Regions from separate parts of the Homo sapiens genome. Here all the other regions are linked to region 2. The links are contacts of gene promoters, found by promoter capture Hi-C in blood cells and fetal thymus (Javierre and others, 2016). All regions are on one chromosome and are shown on one strand. Each heading gives the region's core, a stretch centred on a gene start or on the middle of the fragment in contact. The rest is flanking DNA. Distances are from core to core; before and after follow the strand shown. Region 1 has its middle 220 kb from the start of SNORD151. Region 2 holds the start of PKD1L1-AS1 (PKD1L1 antisense RNA 1). Region 3 has its middle 270 kb from the start of SNORD151.

Region 1 (4,386 bases), core at 37-2,536, 550 kb before region 2:
TCTAAGTGGATTGCACGGATGTTTTATGATAAGAATATATTCAAAATAAAATTAGAAGAAAATTGTTGGCTATGAGCTTCCTAGTATCCAGTGCAACTATTTATAGAATGAGGCATAAAATCCCTCAGGAGTGACCTGCCTGGTCTCAAAAGGGTTGTGTGACTTCAGGAACTATGAAGCCTAGTTGTGGGTTTCCATCTTGGCACCCAGGATGCTCCCCCTTCTTCCATGTTCCTCTTGGAGACCACTCCCTACTCTCAATTATGGTTTGCAGTGGTGGTGATGGGCCTGGTCGATCCAATCACTCCTCTGACCAGGTAAGAATCATCAAGACACAAAGAGACCTTGAGCTCCTGGGGAAGCCATTCTCATTCTGGAGAAGCTGAGAGGATGCCGGGCCTGCAGGGCTGTAGCCGGCATTGTCGCAGTAAAGATCTGTTGAGGCAGGCCTGTGCAAATAGTGTTGAACCAGCGATGGGAATGAGCTCCTGGTCAAACCACACAAAAAGGAGGATGACCTTTGAGGTGGGTACACCTCTATTTTCTCTTCTTTTCTTTCCTTTTGCATTCTTTCCTCTTTTTTAAAGCCAGTTTATGTTGGCTTTTCTGCCTATAGCGCCTGAAAGAGCACAGGGAAGCTTATCTTACTGCACCTGTAACTCACACCTCCAGAAGTGCAACCCAGCGTGAGCGGATTCCGACCCTTCACCCACGACCTCTTGGACAGCGTGCACAGAGGATGTTTCCTAGCCCTGGACAAAGCTCTCACCCTGTGACCTGCCATGACCAATTCAGGCAGGTGCTATCAGAGGCATTTGCTGGGATGTCCCACTGCTTTCTTTCCTTTCTGCTGTGAGCACAGGATGTTCCAGATTACAGAGAGCCCTGTGTCACCAGCTTCAGAATGTAGCAGTGTGGAGCAAGACACAAGGAACAGAGTTGCCCTCATGAGCCACTGACAGTCCCTACTAGCTAAGAAATATGCCTCTGGTGAGCAGTGGCATTGGCTGGCTTCTGTTGCATCAACTAATGACAGCTGATGAAAACACAACCCAACCAGACACCAGAAGAACAGGCCCTTGCCCCTCCCAGGATAGGTCCACTTGACTATCTCCTTGAAGCCACTTAGAAAGTTAAGGTGGCCTAAGCTTTTCTCAGATGCCTCCTCTGTCTCGGCAGAAGCAACTTTCAAAATTGACTTCACTGGCTGCATTAGCAATCAACACTCTGCAGAAACTGATCATTAAAAGTAAATAGTGAGACATTTTCCCTCACTATTTCCAACTTATTGTTTTTATCATGTGATAGAAAATTCTGGCATCTTAAAATATATACTTAAGAGAATACCACACACTGGTGGCTTTCGAGAACTAGCTCTTTTCTGAAGATGGGAAGAGTCCAAGAAACGAGAAATGACTGTCACCAAAGCTTTAGAAAAAAGAAAAAGTAGAAGAGTCTGTTTATGGTTCCTGGGCTAATGACTTCGGAGAGCTGTCAGTGTCAACAGAGCCAAGCACCACATGGGACAGAATTTGGTTCATTAGCAAATTATGGCTTGTGAGTACAAAAAAATAAATAATTTGCGCTGCAATGGAATTCCATACCCCAAGGAGCTCTGGGAAGATCGATGGGTGCTCTGCTCAAAGGGCTCTTCCAACCTCATGGGGCCTCCTGTCGGGTGTCCCACGTCCCCCATGGCCCTGGTGTGGCCACACTCATCTCCGTGCAAAGCAGAATGTGTGGGGGCACCCCTCACAGGGTAATTGGCCCAACCTTCATCTTCTACAGACGAAAAAAGAGGGCATGAGGCTGTGTAAACCCACAATCAAGTCACAGCCAAACCAGAGGCGAAACCCCAGCATCACAACACAGCCATTCATTGTTCTCCCATAAGCGCATCAGTAAACATGGTTTCCTCCAGGACTTCTTGTTGGAGCTGTAGGAGGTTGAGTCTTACATGCAGCCAGCTGACAGGGTGTGCCGTTGGGGGGAGTAGCTGAAAGATATGGAAATGCTCCTTCCTCATAACTGCCTGAAGCCCCCAGGACACTCCGAATAATGATTAAAATGTCTTCCATGTAAATTCAGCTTCTAGACTATCCTCTTGGTGCCTTCTTACACAAAATCCCGGAGCTGCCCTGGGGATGCTTGTAGTCTAGAGAGCTTCCTGGAAGGCAATGGGTTAAGGGGCTCCCAGTTTTCCTACCAAGGAGAGGAGGGATGGTGGTGTGAGAGATGGGGTGCTCAACAAGCATCTGTTGCCAGCAGAGCCCACCCTGCAGAGTAATAATTCCAAAGTACAGGGAAGAGGAGGCAGGGACCAGGCCTTGGACCTGCTCTGGTAGGAGCCATGCTCTCTCCCTGCCCCTCTCTCCAGGTCTCAGCTGCAAGGGACAGTGACTCAGGCCCTTTTCTCCCTACACATACCCCTGCTCTGTATAACCCAGGGTTCCCAGAACTTGTCTAACTCAATGGTTTGGGATCCCAGTTCTCCAAAGCTCCACGATTATTCCCAGAGTCCCCCAGCATGCCCTGAATACTTTCGACCAGCAAGCCAGGCCACACGGGCCTGGCAGTCCACTTCTTGCCACAAGCCCATGGCCACTTGTGGTGTGTCTGCCACTCCTGCCTCGCCTCACAGCAGCCTCTGCTAGGTGTCTCAAGGTATCCCGGGTACTGTCTTTCCAAGTGACTGAGACCCCTGTCACCATTGCTCTGAGCCCAAGAAATGCTCCTGGATGGATGGCCAGTCTCAGAGATGGCTGATGTCTTCTTCCCTGTGTGTGACACTTGCTCATCTGGGCCGGTGCTCCCTGCCACAGAGATTTGAGTGCAATTGTTGTTATTCATGGTCCTGCCTGCACCCCAGGAAACACTCACACATTTATGCATGAGCCAGGAGATAAACCCAAGAGACAAAAACAAAAAAAATTGCTGGGTGCAGTGGCAGGCACCTGTAATCCCAGCTACTTGGGAGGCTGAGGCAGGAGAATCACTTGAACTCAGAGGGCGGAGGTTGCAGTGAGCCAAGATCGCTCCACTGCACTCCAGCCTGGGTGACGAAGTGAGACTCCATCTCAAAAAAACAAAACAAAAAAAACTTACACAGCATGTTACTGTACTATTCACTGTAGGAAATTGTAACCAATGGCAAGTACTTATGTATCTAAACATACCTAAACACTGAAAAGATACAGTAAAAATACAGTATTATAATCTTATGAGACCACCACATGCATTGTTCAGAGAAACACTGTTAGGCAGTGCATGACTGTATATAACTACATATCCAGAAATGAATTGGCGAAGGAGCTCGGGGAATGCATTCTCTGCAGTACCCTGTGGTCCCAAGCCAGCTAGGAGAAGGTACAAATGGATCAGATCCAAGAGCAATGAGCAGCCAAAATAGGAAGCAGCTGTGTCATGCAAAAGTGGCTCGAAGATCCTGTTAAATTCTTTGCTTTTCGCCATTTCACTTGGAAGGACACTGTGGAGCCCAATCTGTATGGAAGACTTAGGGGTTCGGGGAAAGACTGCAAGTCTAATTTAGGCCACATGGCTCTGAAGTTAGAACTGCTTACAAGCCATGGAAGAGGCCCCTGACTTAGGATGAAACAGCTGACCTGCTGCAGGAGGGTATGCAGCAGGTGCTCTGATCCCTGAACATCCAGGGTCACGCCAGTGCAGTCCTCTTCCTGAGTGACCCCTTCGATCTTGTCACTCCTTGACTGCCTGCCTCCCACGGCTCCCCTTCCCTGCTGACTTCAGGCTTCCAGGTTCCAAGGAAGACTGTGCACATTCCCAAATCCCCTCCTTCAAAATGAACCCCACTGTAAATTCATAAAAATGTGGGAGTAAAAATCTTTTTGATATTAAAAGTACTACCTTAGTTCAGAAACAAGAAAGGGCAAACTCTGTGAGATAAACAAGAGAAAACCCCAACAGCTGGTGTAGCCAGTGCCTCCCAGCCCTTGGGGAATGGGACAAGCCAGGATTCATGATGCAGGGATGAATGCCCCAGCATAGGTATTGATGCACCCATCCTAGAGACATCCTCCCCGAGACTGAACTCGTAGCCTGCTGGTACCTGGTGCAGGGCCCAAATTCTCACCTTTGCCATGGTGCATGAATATCAGAAACACTAGGTAAAAACTGATTTGGAGCCAACAAGCATCACACTACCCGAATCGAGGGGCCCATGAAACTGCCCCACAGGGAGACCACCAAGGCCAGGTGCACCTGGTAGGGAAGCCCACCAGGAGATGGACTTGCACACAAATATGAGACAGCACATTAGGAAGGCTAAGGTCCTGGCACCTGGGCGAAACCATACCTGTAGAAGTAGGTGACAGAACAATGTGAAGGGAGCATGAAATAAGTGTATCC
Region 2 (4,511 bases), core at 868-3,367:
TGGATGGGGAAGCACATGACAGAGAATAAAGCCCTATCAAAATGTACAGTACCGTGATTACATATGACTGCCTTCAGAACCTTACTGGATGATGCTTAAATATCACCTGATATGGTTTGGTTGTGTCCCCATTCAAATCTCAACTTGAATTGTATCTCCCAGAATTCCTGTGTTGTGGGAGGGACCTGGGGGGAGGTAATTGAATCATGGGGGCTGGTCTTTCCCGTGCTATTCTTGTGATAGTGAATAAGATCTCATGAGATCTGATGGCTTATCAGGTGTTTCCGCTTTTGCATCTTGCTCATTTTTCTCTTGCCACTGCCACGTAAGATGTGCCTTTCACCTCTCGCCATGATTCTGAGGCCTCCCCAGCCATGTGGAACTGTAAGTCCAATTAAATATCTTTTTGTCCCCAGTTTCAGTTATATCTTTATCAGCAGCTTGAAAATGAACTAAAACAGTAAATTGGTACCAGTAGAGTGGGGTGTTGCTGAAAAGATACCCAAAAATGTGAAAGTGACTTTGGAACTTGATAACAGGCAGAGGTTGGAACAGTTTGGAGGGCTCAGAAGAAGACAGGAAAATGTGGGAAAGTTTGGAACCTCCTAGAGACTTGTGGAATGACTCTGACAAAAATGCTGATAGTGATATGAAAAATAAAGTCCAGGCTGAGGTGGTCTCAGATGGAGATAAGGAACTTGTTGGGAACTGGAGCAAAGGTGACTCCTGTTATGTTTTAGCAAGAGACTGGCAGCATTTTGCCCCACCCTAGAGATTTGTGGAACTTAGAACTTGAGAGAGATGATTTTTAGGGTATCTGGCAGAAGAAATTTCTAAGCAGCAAAGCATTCAAAAGGTGACTTGGGTGCTGTTAAAAGCATTCCGTTTTAAATGGGAAATGGAACATAAAAGTTAAAGAAATTTGCAGCCTGACAATGCAGTGGAAAAGAAAAACTCATTTTCTGGGGAGAAGTTCAAGCCAGCTGCAGAAATTTGCATAAGTAGCAAGCAGCCTAATGTTAATCCCCAAGGCCATGGGGAAAATGTCGCCAAGTCATGTCAGAGACCTTCACAGCAGCCTCTCCCATCATAGGCCTGGATGCCAAGGAGGAATAAGTGGTTTAGTGGACTGGGCCCAGGTTCCCCGTGCTGTGTGCAGCCTAGAGACTTGGTGCCCTGTGTCCCAGTTGCTCCAGCCATGGCCGAAAGGGGCCATTGTACAACTTGGGCTGGGGCTTCAGAGAGTGGAACCCCCAAGCCTTGGCAGCTTCCATGTGGTATTGAGCCTATGGGTGCACAGAAGTCAAGAATTGAGGTTTAGGAACCTCAGCCTAGATTTCAGAAGATGTATGGAAATGCCTGGATACCCAGGCAAAAGTTTTCTGCAGGGGCGGGGCCCTTATGGAGAACTGCTAGGGCAGTGTGGAAGGGACCTAGTGGAGCTGTGAGAAGAGGGCCACCATCCTCCAGACTCCAGAATGGTGGATCCTCTGACAACTTGCACTGTGCACCTGGAAAAGCCACAGACACTCAATGCCAGCCCATGAAAGCAGCCAGGAAGGAGGCTGTACCCTGCAAAGCTACAGGGGCAGAGCTGCCCAAGACCATGGGAACCCACCTCTGGCATCAGCATCACCTACATGTGAGCCCTGGAATCAAAGGAGATCATTTTGGAGCTTTAAAATTTGATTGACCTGTTGGATTTTGGACTGGTATGGGGCCTGTAACCCCTTGGTTTTGGCCAATTTCTCCCATTTGGAACAGTTGTATTTACCCAATCCCTGTACCCCCATTGTATCTAGGAAGTAACTAACTTATTTTTTATTTTACAGGCTCATAGGTGGAAGGGACTTGCCTTGTCTCAGATGACACTTTGGACTGTGGACTTTTGGGTTAATGCTAAAATGAGTTAAGACTTTGGGGGACTTTTGGGAAGGCATAATTGGTTTTGAAATGTGAGGACATGAGATTTGGAGGGGGCCAGGAGCAGAATGATATTGTTTGGCTGTGTCCCTATTCAAATCTCAACTAGAATTATATCTCCCAGAATTCCCACATGTTGTGGGAGGGACCTAGTGGGAGGTAATTGAATCATAGGGGCTGGTCTTTCTCATGCTATTCTTGTGATAGTGAAGAAGTCTCACAAGATCTGATCATTTATAATGGGTTTCCACTTTTGCATCTGGATCATTTTTCTCTTGCCACCACCATGTAAGAAGTGCCTTTCACCTCCCACCATGAACCTGAGGCCTCCCAAGTCATGTGGAAATGTAAGTCCAATTAAACTTCTTTTTGTTCCCAGTTTTGGGTATGTCTTTATCAGCAGTATGAAAACAAACTAATATATCAGCCATGAAGAAAGTGAGTATTCAGTGTGCAAACGCCTGGTTTGATTTGTTTACATGCATGTCTGGGGTGACTGAACTCAAGTAATGCACCTAAGGCTCTATGTTTTGGATAGAAGTTTGGGTTTGATAGCAGGCACCAAAAGCAAATGACTAACTCAGGGGACAGAATACAGCATGTCTGTGTCCTGGGGAAGACCATAAACTCTGTCTTTCCAACTGTACAGGTCACTATAAGGATATAGTGAGTTAAGGCAGGAGAATGTGCTTGGTAATCTGTAAAGTGTTTTAGAATTGCACGGGAAAATTCCATGAGTTCCACTATGATTGAGACTAATTTTGTGGCTTTGCAAGGAGATTTGGCATGGAAACATACTCATGCTTTGATAACTGAAAGCAAAATTCTGCAATGAAACCATCATCTTGAGTGTGTGCTATCATGCTCAGTAATCCAAGATCTCACAGCTTACGTGATTCTCAACCATCTCAGCCTCTTCCAACTTTGGTGTTTCCAGTCTCAGAAAGGTGAGGACCTTTTCCCACATATAAGCAGTGACATCTTTAAGTCTCACAAAAGATTTACTTTGAAAAGATTTTCTTTTTTGGGGTAAAGTCATGAGAAAACCTCTCAGCTAGGAAAAAGAAAAAAATAAAGACAAATTTCATGTTAGCAGCCTAAATAAAGAGCTTTGTTAACGTGATAAACTATGCAATGGAGATTATATCTGATGATGCTACTTTACGAGCTTTTGGTAAAATAGTGATTTCTTGGTGAAAAAAAGCAAAATCAGGAAAATACCTCTCCTGAATTGAACTAAATGGCAGTAAGATGATCTCAGCAATGGAAATTCATTGTATTATAAAGGTTGTTTTCAGTATCTAACTTTGGAGACTGAGATTATCAACGCGATGTGCATGCCCATATGTAAAGTCTGTGTCTCAGTTTCAGTGTCCCCTGGTGAACCATTCTGAGCTGTGGGTGAGCCTCAGGAGAGAGGCCTGTGCCTGTGCCTGGGAGACCAGAAAGGGTCTTGGGCTCAGCAAGTTGTTGTGCCCTCAACATGTGCTCTATAAGCCTCCAGGTGGTTTATTTCTTCACTGCAGGCTGTAAGCTGTTAGCTCAAAAGCCTACTGGTAACAAACTCGAATTTTTACACATCCAATTGTTTAAAAAATAACCCAAACAGGGCTGGGCGCAGTGGCTCATGCCTGTAATCCCAGCACTTTGGGAGGCCAAGGCAGGCGGATCATGAGGTCAGGAGATTGAAACCATCCTGGCTAACATGGTGAAACCCTGTCTCTCCTAAATTACAAAAAAAAAAAAAAAAAAAATTAGCTGGGTGTGGTGGTGGGCACCTGTAGTCCCAGCTACTCGGGAGGCTGAGGCAGAAGAATGGCGTGAATCCGGGAGGCGGAGCTTGCAGTGAGCAGAGATTGCGCCACTGCACTCCAGCCTGGGCGACAGAGCAAGACTCCGTCTCAAAAAAAAAAAAAAAAACACCCAAACAAACATTTTAGCCATTTAGAGCCTGTCAGCTTTACACACCCTGCAAAACCTCAGGGGACAGCTGTTACCCACTGATAATGTTATAAGGCCCCAAGCTGCTGCTGGCTTCAGGAGCTTTCTGACCCAGAGCCTCCCCTCCATGCTGCTAAGCAGCATCGTCTAAGGGGTAAGCTCTCTCTCTGCTGCCCCTCTCCCCTGAGATCGCCCTTGCTCTTCTTCCTTTTTGGATGGTTCTTGGCCCCTACGCTGTAAACCTGTGGACAGTTTCATAGCATGAAGTATGAGGGAGTTCCCCCACATGGAAACACTTCAAAACATTACCCAGATAAAGCTTGTGTGTGTTATCATCTCTTGTGGTCATATGTTTGTTCTTGATTGGTCCCCAAATCCCTCGAACCCCTCACAAAATTTCAGAACTCTGCAAAGATGCTCAGGAGCCTGAAAGGGTAGGCCATTGGTGTGTAGGTCTGAGGCCTCCTGGATTTACCAGCAACACACCCATGGCAGACAGCAAGACCTGACTCTTCCACCCAGAGACCTCAATGCAATATTGCCTGCCTGTCTCAGAAGATAGCATCCAGGTGCCTAAGCACGACATTCAAGGCCCTCCATTCCTGACTCCAACCATCCTTTTCAACATAATGCCCACTTGACCCAGA
Region 3 (4,526 bases), core at 269-2,768, 600 kb before region 2:
TGGCCTTATAAGAATAGGAAGAGAGAAAAAGAGTAGGGTACTCTCTCCACCACCCCTGTATGCACAGAGAAGAGGCCATGTCAGGACACAGCAAGAAGGCAGCCGTCTACAAGCCAGGAAGTGAGCCCTCACCAGAAACCAACGATGGCACCTTTATCTTGTCATCTGAACTCCAGAACTGTGAAAAGATAAATTTCTGTTGCTTAAGCCACCCAGCCTATGATACTATGTTATGGCAGCCCAAGCCAACTAGGACAGATGGGGAGTGTGGGAAGTAAGTAAAGTGTTTGGAATACCTCCAGTGGGGGTAAAGAAAGAAATTATATATCCACTGAAGAGAAGGATTTCTTTGCAGTTCTTGAGGGCCCTGTTGGCTAGGATCACACACATCCTTCTGATTTCTCCCAAGTCTGTGACCACTTCCTTCTAGTGTCCTTAGCTAGCAACTCTCCTTCTGCTGTAAAATGTTAGGCTTCCCCTGTGGCCTTCCTGTCTCCCTTTACATAGGCTACACATGCTCCCTTAGTTGCCTTGTCACCTCCCTAGCATCAGCCACCACCACGTGTTAATGACCAACCTCCTGTGTCTTCTGTACAGCCTTCCTTCCCCAACTCCCAAATAGCATTTCCAACTCCTTACTAAGAGTCCCCCAGGTATTGAAAATTCAACATATCTAAAAGAAAACACATCATCTCTATCCCCTTAGACTGATCGTCCACTCAGCCCTCAGCACTTCCATGCTGCTGCTTGACCAGACAAAAAGCACTAGATCAATCCCTGGGCATCCCTGCCTTTGTTTATCATGTTTCTTTAACATCTTTGGTCCAGCCCAATTTACTCTTCTGACTGGATGATTGTGATACAGTCATCCTTTCTAGTCATATTCTTGGCTTCAATTCATTCCTCACATGACAGCTGCAATGCTCTTCTGATTACACTGCCCCACTGCTTAGTGCAGTTTAAGAGCCCAGGTTAAAGTCCAAACTGCCTGCCAGACCCTTCAGATCTGTCCCTGATTCATCTGCAGCCTCATCCCTCACCATTCCCCAGTGCTCACCTCCCAGTGTGTAGCATAAACTCACTTTGCTCATGGCTTCTCACATTCTACGCTTCTGCCTAACTGGCCCCCACCTTGACCCACTTTATATCGAACCAACCCATGTTGTCTTTCAAGAATCTCCTCCTAGGAAGTTTCTTCTAATTCCCTAGATGCTTAAGTCATTTTAGCTGTCTAAGGCCAGCTCACTATCAGTAGGATAGAGATAGTGTTTGACCCTATAGAGAGAGTAGTGTGCTGGCATGTTGTGGCTTATGTAGATAAACCCACAACTAAGTGCTCCTCCTAATGCCTGGTACCCACGTGCTCAATAAACGCTCACTGCTGATGTTTTTATTTTCATTTTTATTGTTACAATCATCTACTTTGTTCAACTTGGGCTGCAATGACAGAATACCGTGGACTAAGCATCTAAAATAACAGACATTTATTTTCTCACAGTTCTGGAGGCTGAAAGTCTTGATCAGAATGTCTGCAGCATGGTTGGGTTCTGGTGAAGGCCTTCTTCCTGACTTGCAAATGGTCACCTTCTCTCTGTGTCCTCACATGGCAGGGGGAAGGCGGAGAGGGAGAGAAAGAGAAAGAGAGATGAAGACAAAAAGTGAGTGAACTCTGGTCTCTCTTGTCTCTTCTTACAAAGACACTTAATCCTATCATGGGCCCACCCATCACCTCATCTAAATTCAATCTCCCCCAAAGACCCCACTTCCAAATATCACCCCATTGGGGGTTAGAGCTTCAACATATGAATTCGAGGGGGAATATTTAGTCCATAACATCGTCATTATGTGCTGCCATTTAGAGTTTGTCATAGTGACTGTCTTAGTCTACCTGTGCTGCTGTAACAAAATACCTGAAACTGGGTAATTTATAAAGAACAGAAATGTATTTCTCACAGTTCTAGAGAAAGGGAAATCCAAAATCAACATGCCAGCAGGTTCAGCCTTCTGGCGAGGGTCGAGTCTCTACTTCCAAGAGGGCACATTGAATGCTGCATCCTCCAGAGTGGAGGGACGCTGTGTCCTCACATGGCAGAGACCTCAGAAGGGCAAAAAGAGATGAACCACTTCCATCAAGTTTTTTCATAAGGGCATCTAATCCTATCATGAGAACAGAGCCCTCATGACCCAGTCACCTCCCAAAGACCTCATTTCCCAATATGGTTGCAGTGGGGATTAAGTTTCAACATAAATTTTGGAGGGACATGAACATTCAAACAATAGCATTTTGCTCCTGGCCCCCAAAGTTCACTTCTTTCTTACATAAAAAGAAAATGCAGTCACTCCATTTCAACAGCCCCAGTAGCCCCCAAGTCTTAATTTATCTCAGAATTAATTTTAAATTTTAAATCCAGTCTCATGTAAACATCATGTGGGTGAGACTCAAGGAACTATTCATCCTAAGGCTAATTTCCTCCCAGCTGTGAACCTGTAAAATCAAATTAGATATGTATTTCCAAAATACAATAGTGGGACAGGCATCCATGTTGTTACATAGATAAAAAGTGTTTACCACAAGTATACCGCAATTTACTTATTCATTCTCCTAGTGATAGACATTTGGGCTGTTTCCGGATTGGGGCTATTATAAATAATGCATCTATAAACATTTTCATACAAAACTTTTACAAGAAATACTTACATTAGAACATTTTCATTTCAAAAGAGAGAAATAAGAAGAAAGAAATGACAAGTCCGAAACACAACAGAGCAAACATTAAATCTTAAGGCTAGAGAATAATTTTCTTTGAGTCCATGTATCACCTTCCAGACATACTGGGGCAGAGATTTGCCCTCAAGATTCCTGGCAGCCCCCACCCTCATGGCTCTGCTAGAGATTTTTGTTTTTGCTCATACCACAGTTCTCTCAGGTGGGAGTCCAGGTGCCTACAGCCCTCCCAGGCTGGTGCTGCACACTGGTGTTTCTATAGCCATGAGGTCTCTGGGGGTGGTCCTGTCCCCACAACTTCACTAAGCATTCCCATAGGGTGGGTTCTCTGTAACAGCCCCACCGCTGTGGCAGATATGCCTTGGCCTCAAGGCATTCTTGAAAATCTAGGTGGAGGTAGCTATGCCTCCACAGCTCTTGCATTCTGCTTGCCTGAAAAATTAGCACCACATAAACAACATTAAATCTCACTCCCTGTGTCTTCTGTAGCAGTGGCCCCAGCTGCATGTAGGTCCCCTCTAAGCCATAGCAGGGGTGGCCAAGGAGCATTACACCAGAATGTGGAGAACAGAGACTTGGGACAGCCTTGGGCCACAAACCCTGAGGTCCTATGGGTATCCTGGTTTCTCCCCAGAAACTGTTCTGCCCGCAAGGCCCTAGAACTCTGGGCCTGCAATGAGCATGGGAACCCCAAATATATCCGAAATGGCTTTGGGGTCATCATCCATTGTCTTGATGAATAGCATCTGGTCCCTTCTATCCATGTTAATTTCCTTATCAAATGTTCATTTGGCCATACCCTTGGTTTTCTCTTCTAAGCATACATATTTATTCTTTAAATAGACAAGCTTAGAATTTTCAAAATCTTTAGGTTCTGTTTTACTTTTAATTACAAATTCCATCTTTAAATCATTTCTCTCTTCTTTCGTTTTACTATAAGCAGTTAAGAGAAGCCATACAGTATCCTGAACACTTTGCTAGAAGAAATTTCTTCCACCAAATATCCTAGTTTATCGCTCTTAAGTTGTGCATTCTACAAAGTCCCAGGACAATGACAGAAGTCAGTCAAGTTCTTTGTAACAAGAATGGCCTTTCCTCCAGTTTCTCATACCTGTCTCTCACTTTCATCTGAGACCTCAGCAGAATAGTCTTCAATGTCCATGTTTCTATCAGCATTCTGGCCAAGCACTTAAGTAATCTCTAAGAAGAATGAGGTTTTCCTACAGCTCTCCTTTTCTTCCAAGCCTTCACCACCATCACTGTGAATGCACCACTCTTGGCAATCTGGGCTTTTTCCTGCATTCCCTTCAAACCTGTTCCAGTGCCAGCCATCATCCAGTCCCAAAGCCATTTCCACAGTTTTAGGTTTTTGTTGTAGCAACACCCCAATTCCCTGGTACCAATTTTTGTTTTAGTCAGTTCGTGCTGCTATAACAGAATACCTGAGAGTGGGGAATTTATAAAGAACAAAAATTTATTTCTCACAGTTCTAGAAGCTGGAGAGTCCAAGATCAAGGTGCCAGCAGGTTTCTTATCTGCTGAAGATCCAGTCATTGCTTCCAACAATTTTGGAGAGGACAAAAACATTTAAACCATAACAATGACCTATCAAATAATACTATGTAGCTAGCTAGCTACTTATCTACCTGAGGAGACTCTCCAGATGGTGAGGCAAGGTCAAAGGGAAGGATGGCTAGAGTGTTAATTACTAGGCAGTGGTGACTTGATGCAAACAAGATGGGACTGAAGCTTTGAGTTCCTATGGCATACTCACAATCACAATCTCCCCCTATTCAGAGAC

The links. The method cuts DNA at HindIII sites, captures the fragments that hold promoters and counts their contacts. A CHiCAGO score of 5 or more calls a contact.
Region 1: a contact is called between a fragment that was not itself captured here and the fragment with the promoter of PKD1L1-AS1 in region 2, in 4 of 17 cell types (erythroblasts, total B cells, fetal thymus and 1 more). The highest score is 7.2, in erythroblasts.
Region 3: a contact is called between a fragment that was not itself captured here and the fragment with the promoter of PKD1L1-AS1 in region 2, in 1 of 17 cell types (fetal thymus). The highest score is 5.1, in fetal thymus.

Annotation. Positions count from the first base shown.
Region 1 is chr7:47,243,961-47,248,346 of GRCh38, forward strand. No RefSeq gene overlaps it. Among named protein-coding and RNA genes, the nearest start is that of SNORD151, 220 kb to the right of the region's middle. The HindIII fragment of the contact is 280 bases long and covers 1,147-1,426 here.
Region 2 is chr7:47,793,174-47,797,684 of GRCh38, forward strand. PKD1L1-AS1 (PKD1L1 antisense RNA 1) reads left to right here and starts at 2,118. Exons shown (of 4, transcript NR_161269.1): 1 at 2,118-2,270. PKD1L1 (polycystin 1 like 1, transient receptor potential channel interacting) reads right to left here. Exons shown (of 57, transcript NM_138295.5): 55 at 2,816-2,977. The HindIII fragment of the contact is 8,231 bases long and covers 1-4,181 here.
Region 3 is chr7:47,197,417-47,201,942 of GRCh38, forward strand. No RefSeq gene overlaps it. Among named protein-coding and RNA genes, the nearest start is that of SNORD151, 270 kb to the right of the region's middle. The HindIII fragment of the contact is 4,105 bases long and covers 1-3,571 here.